Regions from separate parts of the Homo sapiens genome. Here region 2 is linked to region 1. Evidence: promoter capture Hi-C in human tissues and cell types (Jung and others, 2019). All regions are on one chromosome and are shown on one strand. Each heading gives the region's core, a stretch centred on a gene start or on the middle of the fragment in contact. The rest is flanking DNA. Distances are from core to core; before and after follow the strand shown.

The links. Contacts are between HindIII fragments. The study calls those that stand out against the background at their distance.
Region 2: a contact is called between a fragment that was not itself captured here and the fragment with the promoter of HINT3 in region 1, in 1 of the 25 tissues and cell types used here (H1 embryonic stem cells).

Annotation. Positions count from the first base shown.
Region 1 is chr6:125,955,298-125,958,145 of GRCh38, forward strand. HINT3 (histidine triad nucleotide binding protein 3) reads left to right here and starts at 1,473. Exons shown (of 5, transcript NM_138571.5): 1 at 1,473-1,881. The coding sequence starts at 1,681. RefSeq lists enhancers at 1,486-1,585, 2,646-2,695 and a silencer at 1,756-1,975. The HindIII fragment of the contact is 11,405 bases long and covers 1-2,848 here.
Region 2 is chr6:125,522,424-125,525,271 of GRCh38, forward strand. No RefSeq gene overlaps it. Among named protein-coding and RNA genes, the nearest start is that of LINC02523, 150 kb to the right of the region's middle. The HindIII fragment of the contact is 5,304 bases long and covers 1-2,848 here.

The DNA.
Region 1 (2,848 bases), core at 223-2,722:
AGGATAAATAAGTACATAAATAGCTATAAGATACAAAGAGACAAATCCTACAAGAGAAATATTGAAAACCTGTTATATGAATTTGCAAGAGGATGTGCTTATGTCAGTTTGGCTAAAGAAAATTTCATGAAGGAGGTAGCATTGGAGGGGTGGCTTGGAAGGTAGAATTTGGAGTGAAGAGATGGAAACAAGAATATTTGAGAGAGAACTGTGTGAATAAAAGCAGTGATGTGAAGGTGTAGTACAGGCATGGAAATTGTGAATACTAAAATTTGGCAAAACTCTAATGTATTGATTCTGAACTCTGCTTTGGGGTGCTGAAAGGCAGTGAAGCTATTGTAGTGGTTCCCCAAACTACGGGCCAACTACAAAAAGGAATGAAAAATGTCTTGAATGTATATGTACAACAATTCAAAACACATACAACCACTTTTTATTACAACATAAATCCATTAAAAATCATTACTGAATTCCCAATTTGTTATGTATTTTCTAAATCAGCAAATACCAAGGGTGTAACTACTATAGTGAGCTAGTCCAACAAATTTTTTGGTGTTAAAAAAGGAGTGCTGTATGTCAAAAAGGTTGGTGGGTTTTGGAGTTAGACAAACCTTGATCTTAAACTCTGTCACTATTAATTAGTTGTGTGGGACTGGGCAACTCTGAGTTTGGTCCTTCATCTCTAGAGCGGTGGTTATAAAACCAACCTTGCGTTTTTTGACAATTAGAGAAATATATGGCATGTTTTAGATGCTCAGCAAGTGGGAAGTATCACAAAACGAAAAGCTGAGGTCAAATCAGAGTCCACCTTGAACACCAAGCTAAGGAACTGGTACTTTTTCTTTGAGCACATAGTTACAGAAGGTTTTGTCTGAGTGACAGGAAAATCAATAAGTAAGTTAGAAGGTGATTGCGTTGGTCTAGGTGAGGCATTATGAGGCACTGGCATTGAATTTCTGGGATATTTCAGAGTATTGACTATAGGACTCCACATCTACTTGTATATGAGGAATGTGAGATTAAAAAAAAGGTCGCTAGTTTGATCTAACTGTGCTGTTAACAACAATAAAAAGTCAACAGAGATGTAAAGGTCAGTTTTGGACATTTTGAGTTTAAACTCCTACAATTATCGTGGCTGAAAAAGCAGCAAACATGATGTCTGTTGAAAACAAGGCTTTAGGAATTTTGCTCATTCTTTAAAAACCTACGAATTTTAAAAATCAAACTTTAAAAAACTTTTTGTTTTTTTTTTTAAAAAAACGGCAGCGTAATACAATATTTGGACACGCTATACTATGGGCTTTGAAGAACGCCTGTCCAGAACACCCAACAAGCTCCATTATGTCAAACGCTCCCGCGCCTCTGTGATGTCACCACGACGCGCTGGGCGCTCTGCGACTTGGCAGACGTCGTGCGTCATTACCAACGAGGCGCAGGGGTCAGGACGACTCTCGGCAGCGCCATTGCGCGCCCTCTAGTGGCAGCCGGTTTTGAGGCCGGCCTCCGGCTTTGAAGTTCCTCACCGCGTCTCCTTCCCTCTCCCCAAAGCCTGGATCACCGCCCAGCGTCAGGCGAGGGGCGACGTCTCGAGGTAAAACGGAGGAGGTGCGGGACGCGGAGACTGCGCGGGCCCGGTAGCCCTGGAGAGGCCGAGGCTCTAGGCCGCGAGGGGCGGGTGCAATGGCGGAGGAACAGGTGAACCGCAGCGCCGGCCTGGCCCCCGACTGTGAGGCCTCGGCGACTGCAGAAACTACGGTTTCCTCAGTGGGGACCTGTGAAGCCGCTGGCAAGTCACCAGAGCCCAAGGACTACGACAGCACCTGCGTGTTCTGCCGGATCGCGGGGCGGCAGGACCCGGGCACCGAACTCCTGCACTGCGAGGTGGGCGGCGACGCGCGGCCGGGGGTGGGTGAGGACCTGGCCGCCCCTCGGAGCTCCGGCAGGGAGGCCTCGCCGTTGTGGAGCGGGTGCAGAGGATCCCGATCGCTACTCAGCTCGCAGAGGCAGGGCCGCTCTGTGTGGATGGGGCTCGGGGAAGCTGGGGATACGCCCACTACGGGCCTTTCTGCAGGGTCCGGGTGCTGATGACAGACTCACTCCTAGGGGACTGACAGGCAGTGGCTCCAGCGGTATCTTTGCTGTTCCCAGGGGCAAAGAGTGAATGACAGGGCCGAATGCTTTGGCCTATGTTTGCAGGTACCCAGGTAGTTGGTACAAATAACATTTTGTGGCCTCTGCTTTTATTACAAGGATTCTTCTCCACCTTCAAGATACTGATTTTAAATCCTGCACACTCTAATACCGATACTGATGAGAAAACTAGTAGAAAATAGGTAATGATAATTGTGGAAAGCTGTTTGTTAGATTGGCAGAAAATAGGCTGGAGGGAGTGGGTCTGAGGTCAAACTATTATTGAATTGCCTCTGAATTCCACTGTCAGTTGGGATGCGTGGACATTTTCAGAGCATGAAGACTTTGCCCAGATATTTTTAAACGGATAATCTGGCACACACTTTATTCTGTTGGTTTTACTTGTCCATATAGAAACAACTTTTTGAGAGAATTAGCTCCAAAGATTGTGTCTTTTGTAGTAAACATTCCTTTATTTTTTAAAAAATAAATATAATTCCTTCTAAGCACCTTGTTTTGGAGGTTTTTGAGCAAGATAAGGGACAGTCTGTGTCCCGATTTTACAATCTAAAGGGCGGAATGTATACAGAGGAGGTAGCCAGTTACAATGCCTCGTGCTGTGGTCAGGTGATTTTACAGTATTTTGTAAGCTTGTGGGAGGAGCATCTAACCCAGCTCTGAAGAATTAGGGAAGGCTTTCCAGAGGAAATGAGACATG
Region 2 (2,848 bases), core at 145-2,644, 430 kb before region 1:
CCAAACTATATTGAATGAGGTAACTTGTCATTTATATTTGCACTACTGTGCCGTTATGCTGGAAACAGAATTTGTTCTGAATAGATCCTTGCACTTGACTTGGCATTTAATGGAGTGCAATTGTCAGTGTAAGATTTATATAGTTATACCCAAGTAGACGTGAGCAGTCCTGATTTTTTTTCTTTTCCTTTTTTTTTAAATTTTCTTTTTGTTTTTTTAATTTAAGCTTTCTTTAAAGTTCGGGAGTACATGTGCAGGTTTGTTATATAGGTAAATTTATGTCATGAGAATTTGTTGTGCAGATTATTTCATCACCAGGTACTAAGCCTAGTTCCCATTAGTTATTTCTCCTGATCCTCTCCCTCCTCCCACCCTCCACCCTCCAAAAGGCCTTAGAGTGTGTTGCTGCTTCTACGTGTCCATGTGTTTTCATCATTAAGCCCCCACTTATAAGTAAGAACTTGCAGTATTTGGTTTTCTGTTCCTTAGTTTGCTAAAGCAAACTAACCCCAGCTCCATCCATGTTCCTGCAAAGGACATGATCTCATTTCTTTTTATGGCTGCATAGTCTTCCATGGTGTATATGCATGTGGTGTACCACATTTTCTTTATCCAGTCTACCACCGACAGGCATTTAGGTTGATTCCATGTCTTTGCTATTGTGAATAGTGCTGCAATGAGCATACACATGCATATGTCTTTGTAACAGAATAGTTTATATTCCTTTGGGTATATATCCACTAATGAGATTACTGGGTCCAATGGTATTTCTGTTTTTAGGTCTTTGAGGAATCGCTACACTGTCTTCCACAATGGTTGAACTAATTTACACTCCCACCGACAGTGTATAAGAGTTCCTTTTTCCCTGCAACCACACCCGCAAGTCTTAAATTTTTAAATGAACATTTAGGCACCATTACATTTCTAATTAATGATACATTTAGGAGAAGTAAAAGTATTTCCACTGAAGGCAGAAGAAATGTATTTTGAGTTTATACAAAATGAGTAAACCTGAGAGTACAAGATAAAGTAGGAGTGATATTAAAGAGTTAAAATTTAATATATAGTACCCTGAACACACATGCCACTTCTATTCTTTTTTACAAAATAGTTGAAGTTTATGTCTAGAATAAAATTCAAACCAAACATTTGAGGATCCCTGAAGCACTTTGCAGAATTCCTCTAGTGTCTGGCATAGTGCCTGACATAAAATAAGTAATGAATATCTGTTGAATGGATAGTATATTCTAGTTTGAAAATTCATGGGCATCATCTAGCAAAGGTTTCTCAAGACTCTTTTAGCCTCTCAAGGGGAGGTAAAACAGAAAACTAAGTCATTCTGGGCTGCTATCTACCTTTGGTACTTAACTACCATTAAGCTTATTTTTCATGACCATTTTACAATGGAGGTATTTACATGTGTAACTGGAGGTCTGTAAGGAAAGTATCATTATCCCAATATTGTAGCTTATAAAAATCAAGGCAGAATAATACTTACTAGAGTCTATTAATGAGTAAAGTGTGGACTTGTAATTTAGAACCTGGGCATGGGGCCCCATAGGACATGCTGCCCCTCCCTCATCTCTCTGCCCTTGGTACTCTCCACCTCTCCCTCCCCATCTCCCCAGTTTCTCATCTCCCTGATGAGCTAAAAGCATTATATATAATTTAAAGCCTAGTTGAATTTTGGAGTTGGTCAGAAACAGCTATCATGGCTAGTTCACATAAAAGAGGATTGAAATGATAATATGCAGTATATACACTATACATACCATATAATTAACAGTGTAAATAGAAACCATTTCTACACATCGTGTGTATAGAATCAATTTCTGAAGGCTTGGAATAAACTACATTGCCTATCATATCTGAGGATTTCACAGTAAAAGGGCTTTCCTATTGAGAAATGAACAATTATTCTTCCCTCTATAACTTTTAAGAGTTGCTTAAATATTTTAGCTCTCTTTCTCCTAGAAAATGGAGACTGTACTAAACAAATAAACATAGAGTGTTAAAATGTCCCTGCTGATAATTTTACTGAACCTCTGAAAAATCATCTCTGTTGCATAAATAATGCTGGAGACAATAGTCAAGGATCAGGGTTTTTCAGCACACAATGTAGGCTTTGTACAGTGGATGTTTTCCCTGTTTTTTTTTTTTTCTCCTCGATAGAGTGGTAACAAAAGTAGAGCTTTCCCACTTTGTCCCAGAGATGGGGGTTTTAAGTCTATTGAGGGCAACTTTGTGCCTTATCTAAGCCTCTCACCATGGGCAACTTAGGAGGAAAGGCTGGCTTCGTTGGTCCCTGGACAGGAAAGAGGGGCCACTGTGGGGACAAGGAACAGGTCTCTGCTTAAGTGGATCTGACAGCTTTGCATTAAAAAAGATGTTTATCCTTGTTTATGGCATATCCCTTCTCCTTTTATAATTCCCATGATTGGTGTTACTTTTTATAGTAAGCCTGACTGTCTGGGAAGGATCCACATTGTTCCAATGCCTTAGAAAGCAAAGGGAAGGGTGAGAAACCTTCAGAAATGCTATCTGCAGAAGATTCTTCCTTTTAGAATCTACAGAGCAAATGAACTCTTTGTGTGTTCGCTCAAGCACATATATGCAGTATATATAACATGGGCGCTTTTTGAATGGGTGACTTAAATGAAAGAATTATAGCTTTTCTTTATATACTTCTGCAGCTTCTTTGGTATGTTGACTATATTTTCAAATTAATATTGGTTATTAATAATTCGTTTGCTCAAAGTTATATTCTAATGTCACTTTTTGTGGTGTAATAACTGGAAAGAATCCTACTGTCTTTAACGTTTAGAAATACCTATGGAAAACTCCAAAA